7 separate regions of the Homo sapiens genome follow, and regions 1, 3, 4, 5, 6 and 7 are each linked to region 2. The links are contacts of gene promoters, found by promoter capture Hi-C in blood cells and fetal thymus (Javierre and others, 2016). All regions are on one chromosome and are shown on one strand. The core of a region is centred on a gene start or on the middle of the fragment in contact, and the rest is flanking DNA. Distances in the headings are between cores, read along the strand shown.

Evidence for each region. The method cuts DNA at HindIII sites, captures the fragments that hold promoters and counts their contacts. A CHiCAGO score of 5 or more calls a contact.
Region 1: a fragment that was not itself captured here is called in contact with the fragment with the promoter of GPA33 in region 2 in 12 of 17 cell types (endothelial precursors, fetal thymus, total CD4 T cells and 9 more); the score reaches 8.8 in endothelial precursors.
Region 3: a contact is called between a fragment that was not itself captured here and the fragment with the promoter of GPA33 in region 2, in 4 of 17 cell types (endothelial precursors, naive CD4 T cells, naive B cells and 1 more). The highest score is 7.6, in endothelial precursors.
Region 4: a contact is called between a fragment that was not itself captured here and the fragment with the promoter of GPA33 in region 2, in 7 of 17 cell types (endothelial precursors, naive CD4 T cells, erythroblasts and 4 more). The highest score is 10.9, in endothelial precursors.
Region 5: a contact is called between a fragment that was not itself captured here and the fragment with the promoter of GPA33 in region 2, in 1 of 17 cell types (naive B cells). The highest score is 5.7, in naive B cells.
Region 6: a fragment that was not itself captured here is called in contact with the fragment with the promoter of GPA33 in region 2 in 12 of 17 cell types (naive CD4 T cells, naive CD8 T cells, total B cells and 9 more); the score reaches 10.1 in naive CD4 T cells.
Region 7: a fragment that was not itself captured here is called in contact with the fragment with the promoter of GPA33 in region 2 in 2 of 17 cell types (naive CD4 T cells and endothelial precursors); the score reaches 6.1 in naive CD4 T cells.

Annotation. Positions count from the first base shown.
Region 1 is chr1:167,529,039-167,533,093 of GRCh38, reverse strand. LOC107985224 (a long non-coding RNA gene) reads left to right here. Exons shown (of 2, transcript XR_001738279.2): 2 at 2,839-3,555. It also overlaps the pseudogene AKR1D1P1. Among named protein-coding and RNA genes, the nearest start is that of CD247, 13 kb to the right of the region's middle. The HindIII fragment of the contact is 2,829 bases long and covers 17-2,845 here.
Region 2 is chr1:167,088,078-167,092,312 of GRCh38, reverse strand. GPA33 (glycoprotein A33) reads left to right here and starts at 1,936. Exons shown (of 7, transcript NM_005814.3): 1 at 1,936-2,068. The coding sequence starts at 2,026. LOC124904451 (a long non-coding RNA gene) reads right to left here and starts at 3,713. Exons shown (of 3, transcript XR_007066717.1): 1 at 3,629-3,713; 2 at 2,902-2,990; 3 at 932-1,527. RefSeq lists an enhancer at 1,761-1,910. The HindIII fragment of the contact is 4,295 bases long and covers 1,167-4,235 here.
Region 3 is chr1:167,492,278-167,495,956 of GRCh38, reverse strand. The region is part of intron 1 of CD247 (CD247 molecule); the gene reads left to right. Among named protein-coding and RNA genes, the nearest start is that of CD247, 24 kb to the left of the region's middle. The HindIII fragment of the contact is 3,098 bases long and covers 315-3,412 here.
Region 4 is chr1:167,512,522-167,516,767 of GRCh38, reverse strand. All of the region lies in intron 1 of CD247 (CD247 molecule), which reads left to right. Among named protein-coding and RNA genes, the nearest start is that of CD247, 3.9 kb to the left of the region's middle. The HindIII fragment of the contact is 2,044 bases long and covers 1,565-3,608 here.
Region 5 is chr1:167,406,093-167,410,234 of GRCh38, reverse strand. The region is part of intron 13 of POU2F1 (POU class 2 homeobox 1); the gene reads right to left. Among named protein-coding and RNA genes, the nearest start is that of CD247, 110 kb to the left of the region's middle. The HindIII fragment of the contact is 3,104 bases long and covers 1,087-4,142 here.
Region 6 is chr1:167,444,906-167,448,971 of GRCh38, reverse strand. All of the region lies in intron 1 of CD247 (CD247 molecule), which reads left to right. Among named protein-coding and RNA genes, the nearest start is that of CD247, 72 kb to the left of the region's middle. The HindIII fragment of the contact is 5,276 bases long and covers 1-4,066 here.
Region 7 is chr1:167,425,413-167,429,561 of GRCh38, reverse strand. POU2F1 (POU class 2 homeobox 1) reads right to left here. Exons shown (of 16, transcript NM_002697.4): 16 at 2,222-4,149. Among named protein-coding and RNA genes, the nearest start is that of CD247, 91 kb to the left of the region's middle. RefSeq lists an enhancer at 3,372-4,149. The HindIII fragment of the contact is 2,700 bases long and covers 662-3,361 here.

The DNA.
Region 1 (4,055 bases), core at 182-2,681, 440 kb before region 2:
CTCAGCGTTCGAAGCTTGCTCATTCCACAGGATAATTTTGTGTTTGCTCAGGTGCCCAGAAAATGCCTTTTTAAGATTTCTGAGAATAAACCCATCACCTCCAACAGTCCCAGGAATTGCAACTGTCTATTCATAACGAATGAGAGGCAGGTGCATTAAATTCTGACCTAGTGCTCAAGAACTTTGGAGGGATAAAAAGAGGAAGCACACAGGTCCCTATTCTGGGAATGTGGGGCCTCCCTCACCTCCCCATAGGAGGGCTTGTCCACACCACCTCCTCTTTCCTCCTCTTCATCTCCCACCCTTTCCACCAAGACAGTGACCCCATTCCCCATGCTGGGTTCCAATCATTCCTGGAAGGATTTTTCCCAGAGCAGTTGCCAGCAAACATTTTACAGTCCTCTCCTCCTCTCTGTGATGTAACATTTCCCAACACCTTCTATATACTAGGCACATAACCTACATCATCTTACTCATTCCTCCAACAAGACAGTACAGTAGGCATTGTTAGCCAATGTGGGACAAAAGATTTCAGATATTTATTAACTTGTTCAAAACATACAGCCAGCTAGTAGATGGAATTTGGAATTTGAACCTAGGTCTAACCTGTTCTAAAGCTCATGTTCTTCCACTACTGTGAACCAGCACCCAGAAAACTTGAGTTTTAGTTTTGATTCTACCAGCTTTGTGACCTTAGAAAAATAACTTAATTTTAAGTTTCCTAAACTACAAAATGGAAACTGGCTGGGCATGGTGGCTAACTCTTGTAATCCCAGCACTTTGGGAAGCTGGGGCAGCCGGAGTTTGAGACCAGCCTGGCCAACATGGTGAAACCCCATCTCTACTAAAAATACAAAAAATTAGCCGGTTGTGGTGTGGGGGGCCTGTAATTCCGGCTACTTAGGAGGCTGAGGCAGGAGAATCGCTTGGACCTGGGAGGCGGAGGTTGCAGTGAGCCGAGATCGCGGCATTGCACTCCAGCCTGGGCAACAAGAGCAAAACTCCATCTCAAAAATTTTTTTTTTTTAATTTAAATAAATAAATAAATAAAATGGAAACGGTACACCAATATTGACAACCTTACTGAGTCATCAAGATTAAAAAGACAATATGGCTGGGCATGGTGGCTCATATCTGTAATCTCAGCACTTTGGAAGGCCGAGGTGGGAGGATCCGTGAAGGCCAGGAGTTCAAGACCAGCCTGGGCAACACAGGGAGACCCCTATCTCTACTAAAAAAAAATTAAAACATTGGCCGGGCATTGTGGTGTGTGCACCCGTAGTCCCAGCTACTCAAGTGGCTGAGACGACAGGGTAGCTTGGCCCCAGGAATTTAAGGCTGCAGTGAGCTATGACTGCACCACTGCACTCTAGCCTGAGTGACAGTAAAACCCTGTCTCAAAAATAAATTTAAAAAATACAATATATTAATATGTGAAAATGACACACAAATGTAAGACACCCCCATTAAAGCAAAAAAGGTTCTTTTTCCAATTAAAGGGGCTTGGCTATCAATAGCAATATTTAGTAGGTTATATATAACTATAGTTGACCCTTGAGCAACATGAGTTTGAACTGCATGGGTCCACTTATGCATGGATTTTCTTCTACCTGTGCCACCCCTGAGATGGCAAGAGCAACCCTCCTCTTCCTTCTCCTCAGCCTACTCAATGTGAAGACAATGAGGATGAAGACCTTTGTGATGGCCAGGCACAGTGGCTCATGCCTATAATCCCAGCACTTTGGGAGGCTGAGGCAGGAGGATGACCTGAATTCAGGAGTTTGAGACCAACCTGGCCAACATGGTGAAACCTCCGTCTCTACTACAAATACAAAAAATTAGCGGGGCATGGTCGTGGGCACCTGTAATCCCAGCTACTCAGGAGGCTGAGGCAGGAGAATTGCTTGAACCAGGGAGGAGGAGGTTGCAGTGAACTGAGATCACTCCACTGCATTCCAGCCTGGGCAACAGAGTGAGACTATGTCTCAAAAAAAAAAAAAAAAAAAAGAGAAAGACCTTCATGATGATCCACTTCCACTTAATAAATAGTAAATGCATTTTCTCGTACTTATGATATTCTTAATAACATTCTCCTTGCTTTAGCTTACTCTCCTGTTAGAACACAGTATATAATACATACAGCATACAAAATAGGTGTTAGTTGACTATGTTGTTAGTAAGGCTTCTGGTCAACAGTAGGCTATTAGTAGTTAAGTTTTTGGAGAATCAAAAGTTATACGCAGATTTTTTTTACTTCATGGGGTTCAGCAGCCCTAACTCCTGAGTCATTCAAGGGTCAACTGCAATTCATCTTATCCATTCATAGTATCTCTCTAATCTTACCCATGTCCCCAGCTTATTTTTTTTGCCATCTTTCACAGTGGCTTTTGATAGAAAATCTTTGTGCAGCCTTTTACTTTCATTTTTTTTTTTCTGGAGTGTTTGGACATTAGGTGTGTTTTTCCTCCTTAGTGTCTCACTAAAAAAAAGCCCCAAAATTGTGCGGTTAATTTTTTAAAGGGCAATTAGTCTTTTGAGGGGTAGGGCGCACTAGGTAAATCTCCCATCAAAGTGGATTTGTGCCAGCTGTGAAGTTTGCAAACATGTCTTTAATAGCCATGCAATTTCAGCATCTGTAATACTCAAGACCATTTCAATTCCAAGTTGCAGAATCAAAGTCAAATAACTTAAGAAAAAAGCTATTGGCTCGTGAGATGGAAAAGCCCCTGGGACAGGCAGCTAGGCATGGCACGATCCAGGTTCTCAACAATGCAGCAAATGCTCTGCCTGTCTTTATGTCTCTTGCTCAGCTGTTCTCTGTGTTGGCTTCATTCCCAGGCAAGCTTCTTCCATCTGGTGAAAAAGATGAACACCAGGCGTGTCTGATCTTCCCAGAGGAAGAAGGGAGCATCTTTTTGAACAGCATTTCTGTGAGAAATGGGATCCTAAGGTGGCCTCCAAGATTGACACGCCATGGTACAATCTTCGTGATCGTAAGAAGAACCTGTGAATACGATGAGCTATCACTCCTGTGCTTTTGCGGTTTTATGTGGCAAAGGGAGAGTGTTCTGGGTGGGCCTGACCTGATCAGGCATATCCTCTAAAATCAGAGTTTTCTCCAGCTGGTTCCAGAAGACTAAGTCAGAGAGATGCTCTGTGTTTGGGCCAGAAGCAAGCAAACATCCACATTGTGAACTGCCTATGGGGGCCACCTGGCAAGGAACTGCAGGTGTTTTCTGGGACCTGAGAGCATTCCCTGGCCAATCATTAGCAGGAAAACAGGAACTCACTCCTATAACTGAGAGGAAATAAAATTTACCAACAACCAATGAGCCTGGAAGAAGACCCTGAGCCTCAAATGAGAACTGCAGCCCCAGCCAACACTGATTTCAGCCTTGTAAGTACCTGAGCAGAGAACTCAGCCATGCTATATCAGGACTTCTGACCTACATTACTGTAAGATCATAAATGTGTTGTTTTAAGCCACTACATTTGTGATAGTTTGTTATGCAGCAATAGAAAGCTAATACAACTTCCAAAAATTCTACTGTGTAAGTCAGGATCCTTTGGTTGCAAGCAACAAAAATCAGCTCTGGATAGCTTAAGCAAAAAAGGAAATTGGCTGGAACAGTGTTCGTGTAGCCACAGAATATGAGCAACTTCTGGGATGGATCCAAGAAGGAGAAACAAACAAGGGTTATGTCCAGGTCTTGTTTCATTCTGTTAAGATTTAAAGTCCGGGGAGAAAGCAGCTGATTGACATTACCTGATAGCCTCATCAAGCGATTATAATCGGCCGGCACGGTGGCTCACGCCTGTAATCCCAGCACTTTGGGAGGCCAAGGCAGGCAGATCACCTGAAGTCAGGAGTTCGAGACCAGCCTGACCAATATGATGAAACCCCGTCTCTACTAAAAATATAAAAATTAGCTGGGAGTGGTGGCAGGCACCTGTAATCCCAGCTACTCAGGAGGCTGAGGCAGAGAATTGCTTGAACCTGGGAGGTGGAGATTGCAGTGAGCCGAGATTGCACCACTGCACTCCAGCCTGGGCGA
Region 2 (4,235 bases), core at 687-3,186:
AAAAGGATTAATAACAATAAGTCATGTAGGATACTATGAATTCATAACACAAAGAAATGCTAGGGGAAATATTTGCAATGCTTATCACATCCAAAAGTTCCTTTCCCTAATATACAAAGATCTGCTAGAAGTCAACAAGCTAAAGATCAACAGCTCAATAGAAATATGGCCAAACGGCTGGACGTGGTGGCTCATGCCTGTAATCCCAGCATTTTGGGAGACTGAGGCAGGATTGCTTGAGCCCAGGAATTCAAGACCAGCCTGGTCAACGTAGCGAGATTCTGTGTCTATATTTTTAAAAATTTATTAAAAAAAGAAATACGGGCAAATGAGCTACCTAGTCTCAGAAAAGAAAATATATATGATGTGCAACTATATTAAAAGATTTTCAATTTCACTAATAATTTTTTTTTTTGAGACAGAGTCTTGCTCTGTCGCCCAGGCTGGAGTGCAGTGGCACCATCTTGGCTCACTGCAAGCTCTGCCTCCCGAGTTCACCATTCTCCTGCCTCAGCCTCCCAAGTAGCTGGGATTACAGGCGCACACCACCACACCTGGCTAATGTTTTGTATTTTTAGTAGAGGCGGGGTTTCACCGTGTTAGCCAGGATGGCCTCGATCTCTTGACCTCGTGATCAGCCCACCTTGGCCTCTCAAAGTGCTGTGATTACAGGCGTGAGCCACCGCGCCTGGCCAAATTTCACTAATAATTTTAAAAAGTAAATTATATATACATGGGATATCATGTTCACTTAGATTGGCGATGAGCAGAAAGTTTGATAACTGTGTCATAAACACTTGGTAACTGTGTTAGTGAGTGTGTGGGGAGATAGGTATCCTTATATGCTGCTAATAGGAGTGTAGGCTGTAAAATTCTCATGGTAGCTAGTTTAGCAATATCTATAAAAATTACAAATATGCATAACTTTCAGTGAGTCAGAAATTTTACTTTTAAGAATTTATCTTACATGTATAATCACAACACGTGTGAAATATCGTACACATAATAGATATTGGTTGCAATCTTTTCATAGTTGTGAAAGATGAGGAAAAACAATCTTAAAAGTAGTTTGGTTAAATAAATCATGTCACTCATATACAGTGAAATATCATCCCCATTTTAAAAAGATGATGGTGGTGGTGCTATACATACCGATACAGAAAGCTTTCTAAAACCTTTCATTAAATGAAAAATGAATAAATCATTGCAGAACAGTGTATATATATCTAAAATATCTATGGAAGAAACCAGCAACAGCCACTGCTCCTGGAGAATTATGGTCCCACACCACTGATCATTCTTTCAGTAGGGTGACCATCATCCAAATTTGCTTGGGACTGAGGGGGTTCCTTTTGGTTTGAAAACCAGGACAGTCCTAGGAAAAGTGAGACAAGTTGGTCACATGTCCCCAAGATGATCTTCTTTCACTTATGAACTTGCTACTTTCCCAGTCAGAATATAAACTCTGAAGGGGGAGACTTCCTGTTTTCTTCATGACTATATCTCTTGCGCACTGTGGGGTGGAGGCTGTAGAAGAGGAGAGAAGTAGAGAAACAGATCACATTGTGTCTTGAAGTGTTTCAGCAAATATGGGCAACACCCTTCTTTTACTAGCTTGGAACCCTACCTCTGAGTGCATTTCCCTTTTTATTATTTATTTCCTGTCAGTTATAAGAGAGGCCTACCCCTTTGTGAGCAGTCTAGGACTTTGTACACTTGTTAAGTAGGGAGAAGGCAGGGGAGGTGGCTGGTTTAAGGGGAACTTGAGGGAAGTAGGGAAGACTCCTCTTGGGACCTTTGGAGTAGGTGACACATGAGCCCAGCCCCAGCTCACCTGCCAATCCAGCTGAGGAGCTCACCTGCCAATCCAGCTGAGGCTGGGCAGAGGTGGGTGAGAAGAGGGAAAATTGCAGGGACCTCCAGTTGGGCCAGGCCAGAAGCTGCTGTAGCTTTAACCAGACAGCTCAGACCTGTCTGGAGGCTGCCAGTGACAGGTTAGGTTTAGGGCAGAGAAGAAGCAAGACCATGGTGGGGAAGATGTGGCCTGTGTTGTGGACACTCTGTGCAGGTGAGTAGGCCCCTTTTCTCTCCAGTGCCCAGGGGTGGGTGAGACATGGGGACCTAGGGCTGAAGGAGAGGCTCTGTCAGAGCCTTCCCAGGAAGGGCCTCCAGCAACACAGCTGCGTTCCTGCTGGGCCAGAATTACACATTCCGGACCAGTGCCCAGAATCAGAATGGTTTTTATTTACATATTAGTAAATAACATTCTAGCCCACTGCTGAAATGAAGAATTCAAAGTACTCTCAAGACCATATTTTCTTATCCCAAATTAGATTATAGGATCAGACACAGGATTTGACAATGTGGACAAAGTATTTGAAATCGGAGTTGTCCTAGAAAATCCAGGATGTGTGGATCTAGATATGTTCATTATCTAGTATATTAACGTTTGTGTTAAAACCAGAGAAAGAGACAGGAAACTGAGGCAGAAGAGACAATGCAACTTATCCCGTATCATTCACAGAGCAAGAGAAGATTCAAACCCTAAAAACAAACAACAAACTAGATGGGTCTTTTCCAAAGGCCAAAGCTCCTTGCCACTTCTGGGACCCTGGTCATTGAAAATTCTGGGACTCTGAGCATTTCCCTCTGGGAGGGAAACCTCCCAGAACAAAATCAGACATTCATGAGTATATGGTTGAATCCACATCAAGTGCTTAATAGCACAGTGTTCTGTGGGGACCTATGGAGTGTCTAAGGGTTAGAATGAAAGTCTTGGCATTAAGGTACCAACCATTTTGCTGGGCATTGGAAGGAAATAGAATGGAGAGAAGGAAGTTGAGAGACGCAGGGTTTGGCAAAGTTTAGGAATATCTTTGGTTTAGTGTATTTGGCCATCACCTTGCAATTCAGACACTGTTGAGGGCTTCCAGGATCCAGCTGCAACGGGGAGGAGAAGAGCTATACCAGGAAACTCAGGAGCACCAAGCCTGGGGAAGTGGAAACCAGGAGACTGGTTTAGAGCTCACTTTTTAGCATACACAGGAAAGCCCCGGGCCACGGGGCCTACAGCTCATTCTGGTTCTCCCAGGCCCTAGACATGCTTTTCTCTCAACACCTGGCCTTGGGGCTCTCGAGGGAAGGGCAGCCTGCTGCTGGGGAAGGGCTGGATCACACGGTTTGGAGGAAGATCTGGGTAAGATCATTCTCTCAGGCTGGCTCAAGTTCATCTGACTGAAGGCAGAAAGCCCCTCATCATCCACCAAGATGGACTGGTTGGCTCATTCCTTTATCCAAACAACTCTTTACTGAGCACATAGTTTGTGCAGGTGCCATAGAAGTGAGGAGTCTGGAATGATTAGTCATAAGTGGGCCTATCTCAGCCATCAGATTCAGGCAGGGAGGATGCTCCAGGGCCTGAGAGAGGGAGGCTGAAGGAAATACCCATCCTTCCCTGGCTGGGCCAGTGATTCTCCCATCTTCTCCTGGTAAGCCAGAAGCTCCTCCATGCCTGCACCACCCCAACCCCCAACACATATCCCCACACTTGTAGACTGGCTGCGACCCATGCATGAATAAAAATAAGAAATTTTGGCTTAGAAAAACGATCTTAAAACAAGATGCTCACCCAGCTTGGAGGGAAAAGTGGCCGTAACTCTGAATTGCCTGGAGCAGGACATTTTGCTTCTTCCTATGAGAAGGCAAGTGACCCCTGGGGAACTCACCCAGCAGAACGAGTCTTGGGCATGTTTTCAGACACACTGATGAAGTGTCTTCTACCTCCGCCCCATCCCTCCCACCACAGCCTGCCCAGCACAGAATCACGTGCCCACCAACTTTTCTTCCTCCATATCTTACATTAAGAGGAAGAAGGGGCCAGAGCAGTGGGGCAGGAGAAGCCAGGCTTGGTGGTCGACTTGAGGTATATAAACAGAGTTTACCAAATAGTGAAATAGCCATTGCCACTGCAGGTGAGCAAGGAAGACCTTCAAAGGTCGACCAAAAGCAACCAGGCGGCCCTCCCCACCATGCCTCATGAGAGGATACCACCTCTTCCTTTGCGCAGGTAAGGGAGACCCAGTTAGGAGCAGGGACATTAGGAAAGGCTTCCTGGAGGAGGTGGAGCTTGACTTGGGTTCCAGAGGACTTACTGGGCTTTTCTCTTCTTTCTCTTCCCATCTGACCTTTCCGAGGAATTGATTCTGCTAAGACCTGGGCAGGGAAGCACTGCACTG
Region 3 (3,679 bases), core at 614-3,113, 400 kb before region 2:
TGTGATACATGCTGAGAAGAAAAATAACACAGAGAAGGTGCATAGGAAGTGTCAGGCTGGTGGTGTGGGGATACAGTTTTGGGTAGGGTATGCAGGGATGTCCTTGCTAAGATGGTGGCATTCTAGTCAAACCCAGAAGGAAGTGAGCGAGCAAGCCAAGTGGGAACCTGGAGAAGACGGAGGTGGCAGTGCAGACTGGCATGTTCCTGGAACTGCAAAGAGGTGGTATGAGTGAGGGGAAGGCCAGTAGGAGGTGAGGTCAGACGTATTGAGTTCTGGGGGTTTGGGGAGAGAGTGACAGTTGCAAACAAGCTTGAAGGACATTTTGCTCTAAGTGAGATGGAGGTCAAGGACTTGGAGCAGAAAAGATACATGATTATATGTTTTGGCAGGATCATTCTAGCAGCTGGGCAAGGAACATGCTGAGGGGGAATAAGGGCAGAAGTAGGCATTACTTAGTGATGTTTGTTCAAGAAACATCTGTTGCGCTCCTATATGCCAAGCACTGCGTAGGTGATAAGGATTAAACGGGAGCACACTCTTCTTCCCTCTGGTAGGTTACTGTAACAACTACTCCCACCTCTGTCATTTATGAGTATTTACCCAGTCCCAAGCTCTGGGGTGAGCACACCCGTCCATTATTGCATTTATTCCTCTCAGCAAACTGTAAGGTAACAACCTCAGGATATCCTCATTTTACAGTTGAAGAAACTGAGGCTTAGAGAGGTTATGTAACATATCGTAGACCACATAGATACTAGGTAGACAGCCAAGATTTAAACCCAGGACTGTCTCACTCCAAAGCCTGCAATACTAACCACAATGCTGTTGCTGGAAACTTTTTCTTACGCTGGACTTTGAAAGTTCACCTAAGACAGCATGAGAAGTGATGGTATCTTCCAGGCAGCCACCTGGGCCACCAGCCCTCCCCTCCTTGGGATCTGCCTTCCCACTTTGTCTGAATTGAGGGTCCAACACTGCTCCTCGGACACAAGGTCCAGGTGGGGAGAGAACAGAGTCCAGCCCAGCCAAGGCAAGTCACCTGGGCTCTCTGGAACCCGGACTGCTTTGCTGTAGAGTAAAGTCCTGGAATAGGTCTCTAACCCTCTTTCCAGCTCTGAAATCCAAGGCGTATGTGATCTGAGGTAATAATTGTCTTGCCTCTCATGCTTGGTTTTTGATGAGACCTTCACATTCTTTAATAAACATTTATCTGTATCCAGGAATTATAGGAGATACAAAATGCCGAGGAATGCACTACTCATGATCTTTTTTGATCCTTTTAACAATCCAGAGACATGGGCTGTGTAAAGCCACAGTGCAAAATACAATTAGGAAAACACAGCAATAAGACCACTGTAGCTTTGAATGGTGCTGTTCACTAATTATTACCTCCCCACCCATTTTCTCATCTGACCCTCACAGCAGCCCCATGAGGTCGACAGGGTGAGGACATTATCCCCATATCACAGATGGGAAAACTGCAGCCCAGGGAGCTATGCGATTTCTCCCGAGGTCCTCCTCACACTAGTGTAGTGGAGCCGCTATGTTTATTGACCCCAAATCCAAGTCAACCCAACAGTCTCTAGAACGTTCCAATTACCTGGCCAGTCCTCACTTAGATAACATCGGACTCTTTCAGAAAAGATTAAACAAATCCTCTATTTGTTGACAGAGGTTTTGCTGAACTGGCCCTGGGGATCCGAATTGATCATGGCCATCAACACAGGCAGCAAAGACCCTTCAGAAGTGTTTTATTCACTAGCCACCTCCATCCCCCAACCCTCCATCGTCTAAAGTGTCTCCTGACTCAGTTCTGTCCCCCTGCTTGTCCTCTTCTCCTATTAGCTCTGGGTACCCAGTCCAGATCATAGCCCCAAGCTCTGTCATCATTTTGCAGCCTCCAGCCTCCCCCACCCAACTCAGCAGAGCCCTGAGAAGAAAGTCCTGGGTCCCGGAGGCTGCACCTGCAGACACAACAGATTCTGCAATGGTGAGAGCATATAGGGTATTTTGGGTCTCCAGTGGGGTTTTTGCTGATTCTGTGCCTGACCAGGGCACATGCTTCCTGGAATTAATAATTCTAGATAAAGAAGCCTAGCAGATGCCCACCTATGGAAAATGCTTCTTAAACAAGAAGAATCTCAGAATTAGGAGGCCAGCTTCTTGTTCTCAGCACTGCCCCTAACTAGCTGTGGGGCCTCGGACACGTCACTTGATGCCTCTGGTCCTGTTTTCTTCTGTACATTATGGAGGATTTGGACAGAGATGATCAGTAAGGTCCCTTCTAGCCAGACTGTCAAGGTTCAAATCCTAGCTCTGCCACATTCCAGCTGTGTGATCTTGGACAAGTTACTTTATCTTTCCTAAGCCTCAGTATCCCCAACTATAAAATGGGCACAATAGCACCTATCTCATATGGCTGTTGTGAGGACCCAAAGATACAATGAATGTCAGCCCTCAGCACAGGGCCTGGCACAGAGACAGTACTCAGCTAAGTAACTGTTTCTAAGTTGTTTATGATTTGAAGCTAAGGATAGAGATGCTTATTCTGAGAAGCAGAAAGGAACAGATGGAGAAGGAAAAAGGAAGATGGGACAAAAGGAGAAAAACTGGCCAGGTGCGGTGGCTCACACCTGTAATCCTAGCACTTTGGGAGGCCGAGGCTGGCGGATTGCCTGAAGTCAGGAGTTCGAGACCAGCCTGGGTAATATGGTGAAGCCCTGTCTCTACTAAAAATGCAAAACTTAGCTGGGCATAGTGGTGGACACCTGTAATCCCAACTACTCAGGAGGCTGAGGCAGGAGAATAGCTTGAACCCAGGAGGTGGCAGTTGCAGTGAGCCGAGATCGCACCACTGCACTCCAGCCTGGGCGACAGAGTGACACTCCATCTCAAAAAAAAAAAAAAAAAAAAAAAGGAGAAAAATTAGGGAAAATAGGGCAAAATTGGGGGTGGAGAAAGGCAGGAAAAATTTGAGGGCAGCAACTGCAATAACTTCAACAGAAAAGTAGAACAATAAGCATACAGCCCCAAAATACTCAGCCCCTTTCCTGCCTCCCCTTCCTCTCTGCCCCTAGCAGACGCCATGATAGCTCCTGGAATGATGCCTTTTATAACTGTGGGGCATGTTCCTCCAGGCTGACACCTTCTGGGGGGGCCCCTGAACACAGCATGGGCTCAGCCTTCCTCCCACACACCTACCCTGGTAGGCATCCCTTTGAGATGGATCTGAGTGGTTTCCCACCTCCTTCTAGGGGTGAACTGTCAGTTCAAGAAGGAGGTTTAGGGGGATGGGATGTCCCCTACCTGGGGCTAATGGGGGCTTGGGAGGTGGCTTACGAATCGAAGCCGAAGACAGCAGCCTACGTGACCAGAAAGGAAAATTCCCCTCCCTGCTAGTTAAGAAGCTTCACAGAAGCTCACCAGACTGTTGTTTTCTTTCTTTCTTCTTTTTTTCCTTTGTGCACACATAAGCGTCTAAATTTTGCAAACTGTTGCCTACCTTTGTCTCTGAGAGCAGTGGAAAATATTGGACTAACAAAAATAAGCAACAGCCAGTGGGAGAATAATAGAGAGGCAAGGTCTCCTGGTCTAGTTGGCGCCGCAGGGGTTAAGCCTTTCTGTCGGTGAAACAGGCTAACAGCACCCCCTGAGCCTGCTGACCTCTTCCGGCTCT
Region 4 (4,246 bases), core at 1,337-3,836, 420 kb before region 2:
AGAAAACTGCACATTGGCTGGATTTTTTGCTTCTCAGTGCCACTTACTTTGCCTCTATGGAGACTGATATTTTAGCTATTTTAGATAAAGCTAATAGACAAAAGTGTTTCAAAATATCCTAGCCCAGAAACGAGGTACGGTAAGGCAAAGCGCGACTCAGAGAGGCCTTGACACCGAGGGCTGCGATGGTGCTTTTGCTGCCTGAGGGGACACCTCCACAGTCTCCCCGGAGGAAAGGCCGCACATAGAATTTCAGTCAGGTCTTCTCTCTTTTCTTGCTCAGTTAAGTGACCCATTGCATACATCCCTTTTAAAATGTCTACTTTTTACTAAGCTGTTGCATTTGCATTTCTTTGGAAATGCCCAGATTATTAGGATCAAAGCAAATGATGACCTGGTCTGTCCACATGAGGAGGCCTCCCTGAGAGAGAATCTACCAAGACAGTCACCAGGGCTTGAGGCCAGAAGATCCTAAGATGGCGTGCCTAGTGGCATGGGCACACTTGTGCCTGCAGAGCCCTCAGTGCCTCTAACTCCCTACTCTGCAGTAGCCAAGAATGCACCCAGCGGTCAGTGTGGTGTTTGTCTTTTATCAGTGAGGAGATGGAGCTCTGACATGCAGCCTTGGGGAATGCAAAGCTTCCAGGCTTGTGAGTGGCTCTGCTTTTAGGAAGGTGGCTGGACGTGGTAGAAAGAGCCAGGCTAATTTCAGGTGGTGTCCCAGTGCTGCCGCTTCCTAGCTGTGCAACCTTAGGCAAGTTACTTAACCTCTCTGGGCCTCAGTTTTCTCACCTCTAAAGAAAGACTTGTAATACCTTCTTTGCAGAGATGTGACAATGAGAAGTAATGTAATGTGTCCAATACATAGTAGACAGCCAATAAGTAAACATTGTATTTACTATTACTATTATTACATCTCGGACTGTCTTCTTGTTCTCAAAACAGGAGATGGAAACCCATGGCTGGGATTCTTCATTTGCTTTCAATATGTTATAAAGCAGCAGTGGGCATTTTCTCCATCTGTTGCAATCCAACTCATCCCTCTTCTGATTTCTGGGCACACCCATACCAGCACAGAAACATAACAATGATTGCAGAGGTAGGCCCGATAGTGAAAAAGCAGCAAAGCTCTGGCTGGTCATAGGATGACTGTTACATCCACCATTTTCATTTTTTAAAGATACTTACTCTGTAGGGGAATATTCTCCCGAAGTAAAAACATGTCTGAAAAAATATATGCAAGATGGGGGCTGTGCCCCATTTCCACAAATAGGGGGCAGGGGGATTGGCTGGATTTTTTTACTTCTCAGTGCCACTTACTTTGCCTCTGTGGAGACTGACATTTTAGCTATCTTAGATAAGGCTCATAGACAAAAGTTTTTCAAAGTATTACTTTGAAAGGAATCAGAAACAAAATCCACCCAGTCATCACTGGTCCGGGTGGCCACCTAGATTCTGAAGCCAAAGGGCTATTGTGGGTGCACAGCGACTGAGTATCTAAATGCAAACTTCTTGAACACTAAATCTTTGCTAAAATTGCTGGGAGGTGAATGTGAGGCAAGCTTTTAAGTGATACCAGTACAAATTTTTCATCAATGGCATTTTCACCATCAGATTGTTTCGCCCTCCAATCGCCTAGCTCTGCTCATCCAAATGAGCTATTTCATTTTTCAATTTTAGCGTTTCTCAGGCTTACTAGCCTAGAGATCACATCTGCTTCTGCTAAGCATCCCCCAGAAACGGTCCTGGGGAGCTCTGGCTTAGGTGAATAACCACTGCTGTATTTAATTTTAAATTCTTTGTATTTTTGCTTTTGTTCTTTAAAAAAATACATGTAATTATTGTTGGATATATACTTTTCCAGTCAAAAGTTACCCAGCATTGTGTCTTGTGCTTTACTTAGAAGGGTCCAGTTGCCCTGAGGGAACTCTCTTAGATTAGAGTTGTCCAAACACGCACTTTGGGAATCGTTTCTCCCAAGCCTTATTTATCTAAGGCTTAGGACCTTATATAGGTCAGATAATTGATTTAATAAATACCGGAAATAGTTCAAAATAAATTTCTTAGCTCTGCTTCGGCCAAGGCTAATTTTTATTAACACTAAAGTGATGGTGTTCGTCACTTTGAACAAACATTCAATATGGTTAAAAAAAAAAATTAAACCGGTCATTAGACCTGTTAATCAAAACAAAATGATCGCTTTAGTCAGCGCATGTACATAGTATGTCTTCCGGTCTAAAAAACAACTTTAAGTTCCCTGAAAACAAAGACGCCCCTGTCACGCTCACAGCTCTACCCAGCACTTAGCATGGTACCTGGAGCAGAGTCAATGTGCAATAATTATCAATAAGAATTGTTGAATGCACTCTGGGAGGCCGAGACGGGTGGATCACCTGAGGTCAGGAATTTGAGACCAGCCTGGCCAATGTGGTGAAACCCCATCTCCACTAAAAAATGCAAAAAATTAACTGGGCATGGTGGCACGTGCCTGTAGTCCCAACTACTTGGGAGGCTGAGGCAGGAGAATCCCTTGAACCCGGGAGGCGGAGGTTGCAGTGAGCTGAGATCGTACCACTGCACTCCAGCCTGGGCGACAGAGCAAGATTCCATCTCAAAAAAATAAATAAAATAAAATAAAATAAGAATTGTTGAATGAATTAAAAGGTGAGTGAATGAAGGAAATCTAGATGTTTTCATACGATTAAATTAACTTTAATGGTTTATTTGGTGGGTATATTGAATTGGCATTGTTTGGACCTTTCCTCTAGAGAACGTAGTATTAAACAATGTTATTTTAAAAACAAAACAAAAACCAGAAATTAAACCAGTGGAGGGGACAGGGCAGTTTGAGTGATTAGAATTATTTGAAATGAGTTGTAAGGATGGTTTAAGATAAAACCCTGCCATTATTAAAGTTTTCTGGTTGGACCATATGAAATTTCCACTATTTGTTTATTTCAGATCTACAAAAAGGATAATTTCATATGATTCAACTAACATTATAACTAAAAATAAAGAAATATGCTCATTTTTTCTGATTAGGCTTTAACACCGGAGGAAAGCGGAAAATAAGCAAGGCTAACACTGTTGGAGATTGTTAACTAATGAACTAAAAATAAACTAATGAAAGGCATCAGGTAGCAAAAGACTGGATTATAGTATAAACCACAGTATCCAATCACCCAGTTTCCTCAAAATATAGAAAGAAAAAAAAGCAAGATACTTACTATTAGTCTGGTTTGATCCAGGTTACTAAATAAATATTTCAGGTAGCCAACATTTTTCTGTTCTCTTAGTTTGAGATATTTTAGTAAAGATATAAAAATCACTGACGGAAGTTAAAATTTAATTAAATTTTTTTCAAAATTCCTACCAAGCCAGCCCAATAATATTGCATTCTCACTTCTTTATATTCCAATCCAACATTTTTTACAAGTGTAAAAAATTTTACTATCTTTTTATAGTTAACATAAAAACATAAGTCATATCATAATCAAAACATAAAACATATCATTAAAAAGTTTCAAGTGCTTTTTTTCTTAATATTTTATTGTAAGCATTGTTTTCATGTTTAGCCTTTGTGATTGTTTTTAATTGCTATGTAAGCTTCCATAGCATCCATGCATCGTATTTTCTTCACTATTTCCTTATTGTTGTACATTTGGACTATTTCTGATTTTTGTTATTTTAGCTAATCCTACAAGAAAATCTTTACATATGTAGCTTTTGTTACTTTCTTGGGCAAATCCAGGAATGACATTTGAAAGAATAGGTTAAAGTAAAACAGCATTTTGCAGGATGCTCTAGACTTCTGTTGAAAACAATCCCATCAAGGAAAGAAAATGTTTCTCTAACTCTCTGTTACCATCTCCAAGCCTTTGTGTCTCCTCTGGAGCAGGCACTATGGTGGAAGGAGAGGAGGCTCTGGAGCCAGAAGTCCTGAGCCGCCTTCCCCTCCCGACCTCAGAGCCCTGTTCTTCCTCTGTGAGATGGCGGCAATGGTGCCTCTTCACGCAGGGGACTGTGGAGTGGAGATCTGATTCGGAAGTGCCTAAACACAAAAGGCACTTGGAAAGCCAGAACCATTAGCATGTGTGCCTCAGTTTCCCAATCTGCAAAATAGAATATCATTTTCCCAATGCAATAATGGGGGAACACTGGACTGACATGCTTTTTTTCTTCCTCTGTCATTACATTGCAGTGTATACTTGGGCAGAAATTTCTCTCTAGGCTTTAGTTTTAGCAT
Region 5 (4,142 bases), core at 1,389-3,888, 320 kb before region 2:
TGAGGTAAACATAATGTTCTTATTGTTAAATAAAAAGGAAGGCTTTCTTCCTCTGTCTACCCTTCTGAAAAATATAAGTGATTTATTTTTATTGCCACTGCCCCTAAATATCATTACATCTTTGTAGATACTATGAATCCTATTTTCGTTCATTACTTCTTTGGTTCTAAATCTCTCAGAACAATCAACCACTGAACACTGGATGCTGTGTAGGGTCCTGTGTTAGGCAGATTCATATACCCTTTTTCGCTTTAATCTTCTCTTAAGACATGCCCCCTGTCACATAGTAAGGTGAACATCTTTTATTTCTCTTCCATGCTAAGCAATTTCAATGTACTTTCAATCTTTTTTTGACCAATTTCTCACCTTATCTAACCTGATTTTACCTATGGGTACTACTTCCCTTTCAAAGTTCTGAAATTGAATTGCCTATTTTTATAAGTCCTAATATCTTGAGCTCAAAAGGCTTAAAATAGTTATTTCTTTACTCTCCAGCCACCTTCAAATCATTCACCAACTGTTTTCTTAAATCCCTTAAGTTTACAAAGAAAATCCCAGTCAAATTTTATCAGTGAATTTAACCTAGGCCAGAAGATGATGACTCCAGAAGCATTCAAAATTGTTCTAGGCGTCTCCAATATAAATGTTATATAAATAAGCATTATGGTATAACAACTTAAAATTATCTTCAAATTAATTATCCCAGTCAGTGAGTCATGTTTTCATCAATATATGTATTTCATGACTGTAAATTCTTGGCAACTTGGCAATTTAATTACTTGGGTAACTTTGACTAGTGAACTTATTGTTGCTGAGCCTCAATGTCCTCAACAGCAAAATAAGATACCACCAACCACCTCACAGGGGCAGTAGGAAGCTATAGTCAAGGTGTGTATATAGTACCTGGCACTTCCCTGTGCTTCCCGCCCTGTCTTGTCTTTTCTCAAACAGCTTTTATTGAGATACAACTTATAAACTGGATATCCATATGCAGAAAGAGGAATTTAGATCTTTACCTTACACTGTGCATAAAAATTAACTAAAACAGATCAAAGGCCTAAATATAAGAGCTGAAACTATAAAGCTTCTAGTAAATAAAGTAGGACAAAATCTTTGTGACCCTGGGTTAAGCAAAGAGTTCACAGACACAGCACCAAGAGAATGATCCATAAAAGAAAAGAAAAATCAGTGAACTCAACTTCATCAAAAGTAAAATCTTTTGCGCTTCAAAAGCCACAGACTGAGAGAAAACATTTGCAGATCACATATCCAATAAAGGAACTGGAATTGTGTCAGAATGTATAAACAATTCTTACAACTCAATAGTAAGAATATAAACAACTTAGATTTTTAAATGGACAAATGTTAGTAGACATTTTAACAAGGAAGATATAGGAGTGACTAGTAAGCACATGAAAATTCATCCAGCTTTAAAATTTGATGACTTTTAATCAACTTACAGTTATACAACCATCATCACAATCCAGATTATGACATTTCCACTCCCAAAAAAGATCCCTTGTGCCTGTTTGTAATCATGTCACACTCCTACCTAGTTATCTGCTTTTTGTCTCTAGATTTTTGTGGACATTTCACACAAATGGAATCATACAATATGTAGTCTCTTGCATCTGGCTTCTTTTACTTAACATTCTGTTTTCAAGGTTCATCCACATTGTAGCACGAATCAACACCTCATTAATTTTTATGGCTGAATAATATTCCACTGTGTAGATATAACACATTTTGTTTATTCATTCACCAGTTGATGAGCACTGGTTTGTTTCCAGTTCTTGGATATTATAAATAAGGCTGCTATATAAACATTCACATTGAAGTTTTTGTGTAGAAATGTCTTCATTTCTCTTGGGGAAATTGCTGGGTAGGACGGTAAATTTATGTTTAAAAGAACTGCCAAGATGTTTTCCGAAGCTGTATCATTCTACATTCCTACAAGCAATGCATGAAAGTTCCAGTTTCTCCACATCCTTCCCAACATTTATCATCTTGGGTCTTTTTGATTATAGCCATTCTAGTGAGTACAAAGTAGTATCTCATTACAGTTTTAATCTGCACTTCCCTAATGAGTAATGCTAATGTCACATATCTCTCCATGTGCTTACTAGTCACTCCTATATCTTCCTTGGTAAAATGTCTACTAACATTTGTCCATTTAAAAATCTGAGTTGTTTATATTCTTACTATTGAGTTGTAAGAGTTGTTTATACATTCTAGACACAATTTCTTTATTGGATATGTGATCTGCAAATGTTTTCTCTCAGTCTGTGGCTTTTGAAGCACAAAAGATTTTACTTTTGATGAAGCTGAATTTACTAATTTTTTTTTCTTTTATGGATCGTTCTCTTGGTGCTGTGTATATGAACTCTGTGCTTAACCCAAGGTCACAAAGATTTTGTCCTACTTTATTTACTAGCAACTTTATAGTTTCAGCTCTTATATTTAGGCCTTTGATCCATTTCAGTTAATTTTTATGCACGGTGTAAGGTAAGGATCTAAATTCCTCTATTCCTCTTTCTGCATATGGATATCCAGTTGTCCTAGAACCATTTGTTGAAGACTGTCCTTTCCCTATTGAATTGCCTTGGCACCTCTGTCAAAAATCAATAAAGCATAAATTTAAAGTTTTGCTTCTGGACTCTTAATTTTGTTCCATTTAATCTATATATCTATATGTATACCAGTAATACACTGCTTTGATTATTGTTGCTTTACAGTAAACTTTGAAATTAGGACATGAAAATCCTCTGATTTCACTCTTTCTCAAAATTGTTTTGGCTATTCTTGGTCCCTTCCAAGAGTTTATCGATTTCTTTAAAACAAAACAAAGAAAAAACCTGTTGGAATTTTTACTATGATTTTGTTGAATCTATAAATCAAGCTGGAAGACTGAGCATGGTGGCTCATGCCTGTAATCCCAGCACTTTGGGAGGCCAAGGTGGGTGAATTGCTTGAGCCCAGGAGTTCGAGACCAGCCTGGGCAATATGGCAAAACCTCGTCTCTACAAAAAATACAAATATTAGCTGGGCGGGTGGCATGTGGCTATAGTCCCAGCTACCGGGGAGGCTGAAGTGGGAGGACTGCTTGAGCCTGGGAAGTTGAGGCTGCAGTGAAATGTGATTGCGCCACTGTGATAGGGCAATACCCTGTCTCGAAAACAAATAATAATAATAATAAAATATATAAAATAAATAAAATAAAAAAATATATATTTATGCTATAATGTGGATAAACCTTGAAATCAGAGAGAAAGAGAGATGCACATATATCTCAAGCTGGAGAAAAACTGTCATCTTAAGAATGCTTAGTCTTCCAAAACATGAACATGGAATATGAAATGTCTCTTTATTTAGACTTCTTTTAACTTCTTTCAGCAAATTGTAGTTTTCATTGTTCAAGTCTTACACTTCTTTTAAGTTTATTCCTAAGTATTTTATTCTTTTGATACTGTTACATACAAGTTATTTCCTAAATTTCATTTTTGAACTGTCCATTGATAGTACATACAAATGTAATTTATTTTTTATATATCAATCTTGTATTCTGCAACAATACTGAATTTATTGATTAGTCCTAGATACCTTTTTTTGGTGAATTCCTTAGTATTTTTATACATATAGAATAATGCAAATACAAGCAGTTTAACTTCTTCCTTTCCAAATTGTCTTCCGTTTTTTTTCTCCCCCTTACTGGAGGCTATAACCTCCAGGACGATGTTAATCAGAAGTCCACAAGAGCAAACAAACACTCTTACCTAATTCTCAATCTTAGTGGGGAAAGTATTCAGTCTTTTGCCATTAAGTATTCTATTTGCTGGAGAGTTTTAGTAAGTGCTCTTTATCAGGTGAGGCAGTTCCTTTGTATTTCAGCTTTCATCATGAATGGGTTTTGGATTTTTACAAATATCTTTTCTGTATCCACTGAGATGATTATGTGGTTTTTGTCCTTTCTTCTACTATTATAATGTGTTACATTAATTGATGTTCAGTTATTGTACTAACCATACATTCCTGGGAGATAAATCCTCCTTGGCCATGATGTATATAATCGTTCGATTTTTTCAGTATGTTGCTGGATTTGACTTGCTAAGATTCTTTTGAGAGTTTTGGTTTATATTTTCTCG
Region 6 (4,066 bases), core at 292-2,791, 360 kb before region 2:
AACAAATGATCCAATTTTACAATGAAACATGAATATTTGAAATCTGACACTGAGGAGAGAATTAAGGAGGCTGTGGTACTTTTTAAAAAAATTTTTGTTTATTTATTTTTTTAGACAGAGTCTCACTCTATGGCCCAGGCTGGAGTGCAGTGGTGCTATCTCAACTCACTGCAACCTCCACCTCCTGGGTTCAAGCGATTCTTTTGCCTCAGCGTCTTGAGTAGCTGGTATTACAGGCGCCCGCCACCACACCTAGCTAATTTTTTGTATTTTTAGTAGAGATGTGGTTTCACCCTGTTGGCCAGGCTGGTAGCAAATTAAAGAGAGTAGTAAAACATTATATGTTGCCAGTAAATTAGCTGGAGTCGTTCTGCAGTTCAGGGTGATTGAGGTATCTCCAGTGGGTCATTGCTATAAGCACTGGGCAGTGTGAGTCCTGGCCTCACATTTGGTAGCAGGCCTTCTGTATCTGTCAACCCCCCAGGCCGGCCTCTCAGCCCTCAATGAAAGAAAGCTAATTGTAGAGTCAAGAATATGACCTGCTATAATGGTTCGATCCTGGGAGAAGGGACTCCACAGCCTGGTGAGGACCCCTCTCACCACCTCTGAGGATCAGCAAGTCTTTGAAGGTCAGTACCAAGTGGTGGTTAAGACCTGGACTGTGGATCCAGATGTGCCTGGATTCAACCCTGGCTGTAGACATTAGGCATGTTATTAACTTCTCTGAGCCTCAGTTTCCCTAGCTGTGAAATCAGAGTCACTGTGAAGACTGAATGAGAAAACTCACACGTGTGGTTCCTGGCCCAGAACAAATCTTCAACCAGTGGTTATAACTATTACTCTGTGTGTCTAGCCTATATCTTTTCTGCTGCAGTGAAAGTTAGTTATTCGATGAAAGGGAGCAACCCACTGAGGGGGATGGTCTGGGTGCCTGGATGCTGTGGTCAATGGGTCGGCATCACACCCAGCACCCTGCCCAACACAGACACCGCCCCCACCCCCCCACCCATAGCTGCTGCCACTGCCTTCCTAAGAACAGTGACTTCCTGTTTTCTAAGTTTTTACCCTGCAATGTCATCACCAGTTGTGCCTGAGCCTGGGGGTGGAGCTGGCAGCAGCAGGACTCAGGGCTCAAAGTTGGGGACTCAAAGGAAGGAAGGTTGGCGAGTAGAAAGCTGGCCACTCCTACCTGGATCATGAGCTACTGTGATTCATATTGATTCCATCAGTGCCTACAAACTGAGCGCTTACCAGGTACCAAGCCCTTCCCATTTGAGTGTCACACACCCTGGGAGGTCGCTGTGATTACTCAGTGATTACACAGTAGCAACACCAGGACTTGGATTGCAGTTGTCGCCTTCGTAGGATTCATTCTTACCTGCCGTGCTTCCTATCAAAGTGGAAACAAGCTGGACGGGGGTGAGGTTTGAAAGGCTGCCCTATAGAAATTGGAGGATCTGTGTGATTTGTGCTTCTGAAGGCAGAACTAGGTTCAAAGTTTTTTTTTTAACTCTGAAAATTAGAGCTCTCCACCAGTGATTGCTGGGTGCTGAGCTTCCTGTCACCAGAGATATTCAAGCAGAGGCCAGAAGTGCCTACCAAAGAAGAAACTCCTGAAAGAGGTGGGAAGCTCTCTATATGACAGGAACCCCAGAGGCACTGGGATAAGGTAGATTGAGAAGGGACTTTGCATCAGATGCACTCAGAAAATCTCTAGCCATGTGACCTATTGGAGCTGCAACGTCATTATCTGCAAAATAGAATTGGTAATAATTCTGCCCGTATTGTGCAAGGTTGTTCTGAGGATTAAGCCAGATCATGCAAGTGCAAAGAGCTCTCTAAACTGTATGCTTCATGCATGTGTTACATCATTATCATTTTGTGAAGTGAGGAGTTCTCAGAAAGTCTACACACTACTGAGCTCCCACTGTGTGCCAGGCACTTTGTACACACCCATTATCTCTTTTTATTTTTTTTGAGACGGAGTCCCACTCTGTTGTCCAGGCTGGAGTGTAGTGGCGTAATCTCCGCTTACTGCAAGCTCCACCTCCTGGGTTCACACCATTCTCCTGCCTCAGCCTCCTGAGCAGCTGGGACCACAGGTGCCTGCCACCACGCCCGGCTAATTTTTTTGTATTTTTTAGTAGAGACGGGGTTTCACCATGTTAGCCAGGATGGTCTCGATCTCCTGACCTCATGATCCGCCCGCCTCGGCCTCCCAAAGTGCTGGGATTATAGGCGTGAGCCACCGCGCCTGGCCCCCATTATCTGTTTTTATCTTCAAACACCCCTGAAGAGTGGGTATCCCCATCCTGGGCTGGGAAACCTGGCCAGGTTCTGTCCCCAACCGTGGCATGATGGTGTGGGAGGTCAGAGGGCCATCCCCTGCTGTCACTCCTTGTACCTGCAGAGCCTCTTAGCATGCGCCACTGTGCAGGGCACCCCACAAACTTTACCTCATTTCTCTGCACCCGTGAAATCGGTCTTGTCAAAGCCCTTCTGCAGATAGGAGAATTGACGCTCAGAGAGGTTAAGAAAACTGTTCCAAAACAAGCCAATAATGGGGCAGATTCCACATTTGAGTCTTAGAGTCTTTCTGACTCAAAGACTTATTATGTTCTTTGCTCTTCTCTAAGCCTGTGATGTGCGGGTGAGGAGGGAAAGGTGCAAATGAAACTATAAGGCACCATCTGTGCTTGCCAGAGCCAGTGGTGGGGGGCGGACTTGAAGTGGAACGTTTACAAGCCGTTGTGACTAAGTGTCAAAAGTGGGCAAAATGGCAAGGGCTGTGAAATCAGAGGTAGGTGGAAACTCCGGATCCTGAGCCCATAGGTCAGCTGCATCGAAGCCATAAGGCTAAGAGAAGTACCTGGAGTCAGGAGACCCAGGAATTCCCTTCCAGCTTTGCCACTAACCTGCAGGTGTCCTTGGTGAAGTTGCTTCATTCCTCTGATCTCAGTTTATCCACCTGTGAATTGGGCCCAAAAGTAGCCCCCTGTTTGTCTCCTGGCACTCATAAGAATCTAACTCCATCAGACACAGGAAGTCACTTTAAAAGTAGAAATTAGAGTTCAAATGAGAAGAATCCTTATTAGTTGGATGTGAGTAAGTCCCGCAGATGCCCAGCTCCGAAACAGGATTTGCTGGAGAAGGAGGTTGACTGCAGGGGAAAGGGCACCAGCGTGTATTTTCAGCCTCAGGGTATGGCAGGACCAGGTTGATTAAGGCCTGATCCCTGTTAGCAGAAGTTCATAGTCTGGCTCAGAGACAGACAGACAAACAACGCAATTCAAGTAAATCTCACCCAGAGAAACCAGATTCTGTAAGGATAGGTGCGTCTCCCCCAGGGTGCACTCTGGGGCTCCAGAATCTTCCTGTTAGTGGTCAGTACCATGAGACTTCCTGAATTCAGGGCTTTTTTTTTAATGAAGATGACAAAAGGCTACAAAGGGATGGCGAGGCTCACTGTCACTAATTAGACTCACAACACTTAGATACAATGACCCGTATGCCTAGATACTCTGTGATCATCTTTGGCTGCCCCCAGCCTCCTCTGAGCATCTCACATGGCCTATTCCTGGGATCTTGCTACAGGGCAGGAAGGTTCCAACTTATCGTGCATGGGCTTAAAGTAGAAATCATGGCAGTAACAATAGGTGGCAAAATGGAACACATACCCTTATGGGGTCCTTCACCCCATAAGAATTATTTTATTTTATCCTCACCCCATAAGAAGTATCATATTTGGCCAGGCACGGTGGCTCATGCCTGTAATCCGAGCACTTTGGGAGGCCGAGGCGGGCAGATCACTTGAGGTCAGGAGTTTGAGACCAGCCTGACCAACATGGCAAAACCCCATCTCTACTAAAATTACAAAAATTAGCAGGGCATCGTGGTGTGCACCTGTAATCCCAGCCACTTGGGAGGCTGAGGCAGGAGAATCACTTGAACCTGGGAGGCAGAGGTTGCAGTGAGCTGAGGTCATGCCATTGCACTCCAGCCTGGGCAACAGAGTGAGACTCCACTTAAAAAAAAAAAAAAGTATCGTATTTAACCCTCACCACCA
Region 7 (4,149 bases), core at 762-3,261, 340 kb before region 2:
ACACAGGAGGACCCCGTCTCTACAAAAAAATACAGCTGGGCATGGCGGCATGTGCCTGTGTTCCTCGCTACTTGGGATGCTGAAGCTAGAGGATCGCTTGAGCACAGGAGGTCAAGGCTGCAGTGAGCCGAAATCCAGCCTGGGTAACAGAAGGAGACCCTATCTCAAAATATATATATATATATATAATTTTTTTATAACATGTCTAAAGAGGCAAAAAGAAAAGCTGGCAGTGGGCAGTGAGCTATGGTGCTAGAGCTAAACTGAGGTGTGGGCCACATCAGGCTACGTGCAAGGTAACCACACAGACAGCAAGCTGGGGGAGAACTGAGATATGCTCACAGAAGCAGGGCTGAGAAACCAGTTTCTGAGAGAGCAAAGCCCTGAATCCGAGGGGAGAGCGGCTAGCCCTGGAACTGCCAGGGTTCCTGTCTTTCCTGAGGTCTGGCAATGCCTTCTCCACAGCACAACTGCACTCCCTCCATCCTAAGACACTGTTGGTTACTGATGTATCAACTTATTTCAAGGGCAAAAACACTAAATATCCATTGTAAGATGTAGATCTGTTTCATGGGTTAAAATGTGAAGATATGCTTAGAATCAAGGAAACATGGAATTTTACTTGTATTGAGGAAACACATTATATATAAAGATGGAAGCTTTCAATATTTTTCAAACGTTTATTCAAATGTCACTAAACTCAGAGATAAGATATGAATATTTCTGATCGCTTTTCTTCTTAGAGTATAATTTGAGGTCATTCTTGGAATAAGATCCAAGGTTTCTAGTTTAAAATGTTCCTATAAGCAGAGAAATACTCAAAACTGCAAAGCCTGGCTTGGCAGAGAAAAAATGGCAGATGACCTACTTAGGCTAAGAGGACAACTTCCGGGGTGATTTAAAGCCTTGTCATTTGGCCAACTGTTTAGCCACAGGCCTCAAACTGTCCATGAATAACTTGTGATGTGTTTTGGTTGCTTGGTGCTGGACATTTCAGTTGTTGATCAACAACTACTTTTGTGAACCCATGACTGAGTCCTAACACCGGATTTCCTGTTAACTTCAACCTGGGTCTTTGGAGAGATGTAAGTCCCTCCAAAAACAAAAGAGTAAGGGCATATATTATTCACATCCTGCCATAGGTAATTCAGCTTTGTATACAAACCTGGAAATGGGTTAGAATTTAACAACTTTTTCACAAAGGACTACAGGGTAACAGAATCTCATCAGTTGTTTATCCTCATTCCTTAGGATATGACAAACGAGTTTTGCTTGCTAAGTCTGTGAGCACGACACTATCTCAAAAACAGGATTTCTGTTAAAAACTTGACATTATTTTAAGAAAATAACTACAAACTGAGACATAAGCCATATATCTAAGGAATGGAATGGAAAAATATAAATTCTATGATAAAGGAGCAGGGAGAAAGGGACCCACCATTTGCCTTCCCATTTTGGTCCCTTTCCAGGAGAGCGAGCACATCTTGCGACAACGGCTCTCCACATCATCTAATTCAAGAATGCCTGCCAGATGGCCAGCACGTGATAGACAACTTCCCCAGGTTCTTCAGTAAGCTGAAGCCTTCTCTCTGTGGGGAATTCATTTTAAAATTCAAACTTTACTTTTCATGAAATGAATGAATTGTAGTAAGACACTAAATGCTAAGTGGTATTTATAAGTCTGAAGAAGCTAAGTTGTGCAGCCTCGAACAGGAGGAGGACCAGATGCCAAGTTCAGGGTTACCTTCCTTCGGAGGACCCCCCACCCGGCCCCCACCCAGTGAATGTTCAGGACTTGGCAAGAAATGCTAGAGGGGCAGTGCAGTTTAAACAATACATTTGGAAAAAGTTGAGTTCGGTCCCAGTTCTGCAGTCAAATACACAGTGAGATGGAGCTTTGAAGAGCTCCCTTGCAGGATCAATCATGGGCCTGCGTGTTTGATCACACAAAGTACTTGGGCCTGAGGGAGACTACTGCTACTCAGGGTCCCACGAAACCACACTGAGGGTCTGGGAGGGAGAAATGCAGTGGCCATAGCTCCTCCTGGAGTGCAGGAGGAAGGGTGGAGTGGGGCAGGAACCAGGGTGCTTATGGTGATTCTGGGGTTCCTGAGAGCACTTGGAAAAAACAATTTGGAAGCTGAATTATGCGAAGTCTGAGAATCTGTATGTGAAGCATCCAGAATACCAACACAGCAATTTCAAAGAAACTCCAACAATGTGAAAACACTTGGAAGATGGTTTAATGATGTTTTACAACAGAAATGAACTGTACAGTTACAGTAAGTTTAATATATATATAAAAAATTACAGCAGACAAATGCATCTACACAAAATCTACCACTTCATTCTGATTCACTGTCACCTACACAATCTTTCCCAAGCCTACAGCCCCTGCAGGCAGCCCTAGGAGGGGGAATCATCTAAAGGGCACTTTTGAGAGAGACAGCACCGCTCATATTCCCCGCCACCTCCTCAGGCTTCAGGAGGCATCAGCTAATTCCCCAAAATGTAAAGTTGCCTGTGTTTCAGGTTTTCAAAACCAAGAAAACGTGTGTCTCCCAGGGGCACAGATAACAAGGTCCAGCACGCAAGTTATCAGCTGATTCTTAGAAAATATTCCTATCAGAGGGGAAATATTTGGCTAACAGGCACTCTGGGGCAGTAAGGCTACACAATAGCCACCCAGAGTGCAGAGTTATCTAAGAGAAATGTAGAAGGACTCCCAATAAACCACCTCAGAATTGTCACTGCCTCATTCAAGCTGCTGGACAATTTTGGAAAGAATCATTTACACCACATCTTAAGTTTCCACAAAGAAGAACTCAAACTCACATTTTAAAGTACATAAAACAAAAAGTTCTAGGAGGCCGGGGGCCAATTCCCCTTGTGCCCCTCCTTTGACAACAGTGGACAAACACCCCTGAATTAATAATTAAGACAAAAAAGGAAGAAAAAAAAAGTGAGTTAAGATATTGAAAGAGAGAAAGAAAACATCTTTAGAAAAACACGATCACTGTCTCTTTAAAAGAAAACAAAATCCCAGTTGGGAACAGTAATGAGGAATATGCAATCTAAATTGACACCTGGTGGGAGATTATTATTGAATATTATGTACACTCAGAACTTTTTTCATTTTCTTTTTTATTATGAACACCTAGGCAGTGAAAACTGTTATGTTAATACATACATAGACACACCCAAAACATACAAAAATACTATTATTTCAAACTACTAAGAATAGGACAGTTCAATTATTTTCATGCTATGACTTTAAGAGCATTACACTGAAACAAACAAGAAGTTAAACGACATTTTTTTTTTAATATCCCAGAAATATACCAAAATATACATCTAAGCTTTGGAATTACTGAGGTTAGACTAATGCAAGTGCTGGGTAATCGTACTTAATACACGAGTCTAAGGTTCTGCAGGAAAGAAATTATCTTTGGTATCTGCATCAGGCTAATATTATTAACATTTGGATTTTGCTTTGGGATAGAGCTTGTGTGACCCAAGAACCAAGTACCCCCCTCCCCCAACCAACTGAGATTAAAAAGATCCATGTAAAAAGTTCCTTCATTTGCAATCCCCCCACCCCCCAAGTTAAAAAGTCACAGGCATCTACCTAGCACAAAAGGTTGTGAAGTACAATGCATAGTTGCACAGTGGTGCTGCAAAAAGGAAAGAAAACTACAATAAAGAGAAATGAAAAGCTTGATAATCTTTCTGCATGTTTTCTCACAAACAGGACAGCCACTTCCAAGCAGTTCCAGTACAGGAAAAGAAAAAAAGGCTCAGAAGGGCACCGTGGCGTGCATTCGCCCAGCCCCAGAGGTTAAAGCACCCAGCAGAGCAGCCAATCGTGCGCCAGTGTCTTCAACGTCCCCCACTCTGTGGAGTCCTCGGGCCAGTCCAGCAGCAGCTCCCACCCTCCCTAGGCCCTGTGCTAAGTCCCCATAGTGACCCTGGTTGGTGTAGGGTGGATGATGGTGGTGATGGGGTTTTTTGACTTTTGTTTTGGAAAATCTGAAATGCCAATTTGTTTCAGGGCATGCTCACAAGTTTGTGAGGGCCAAAGCTAGGGGCATGCACCTGTGCTGGACCCTGGAAGGTGGTAAGCAGCTTGCCTGCCCTTTCTGATCCAGT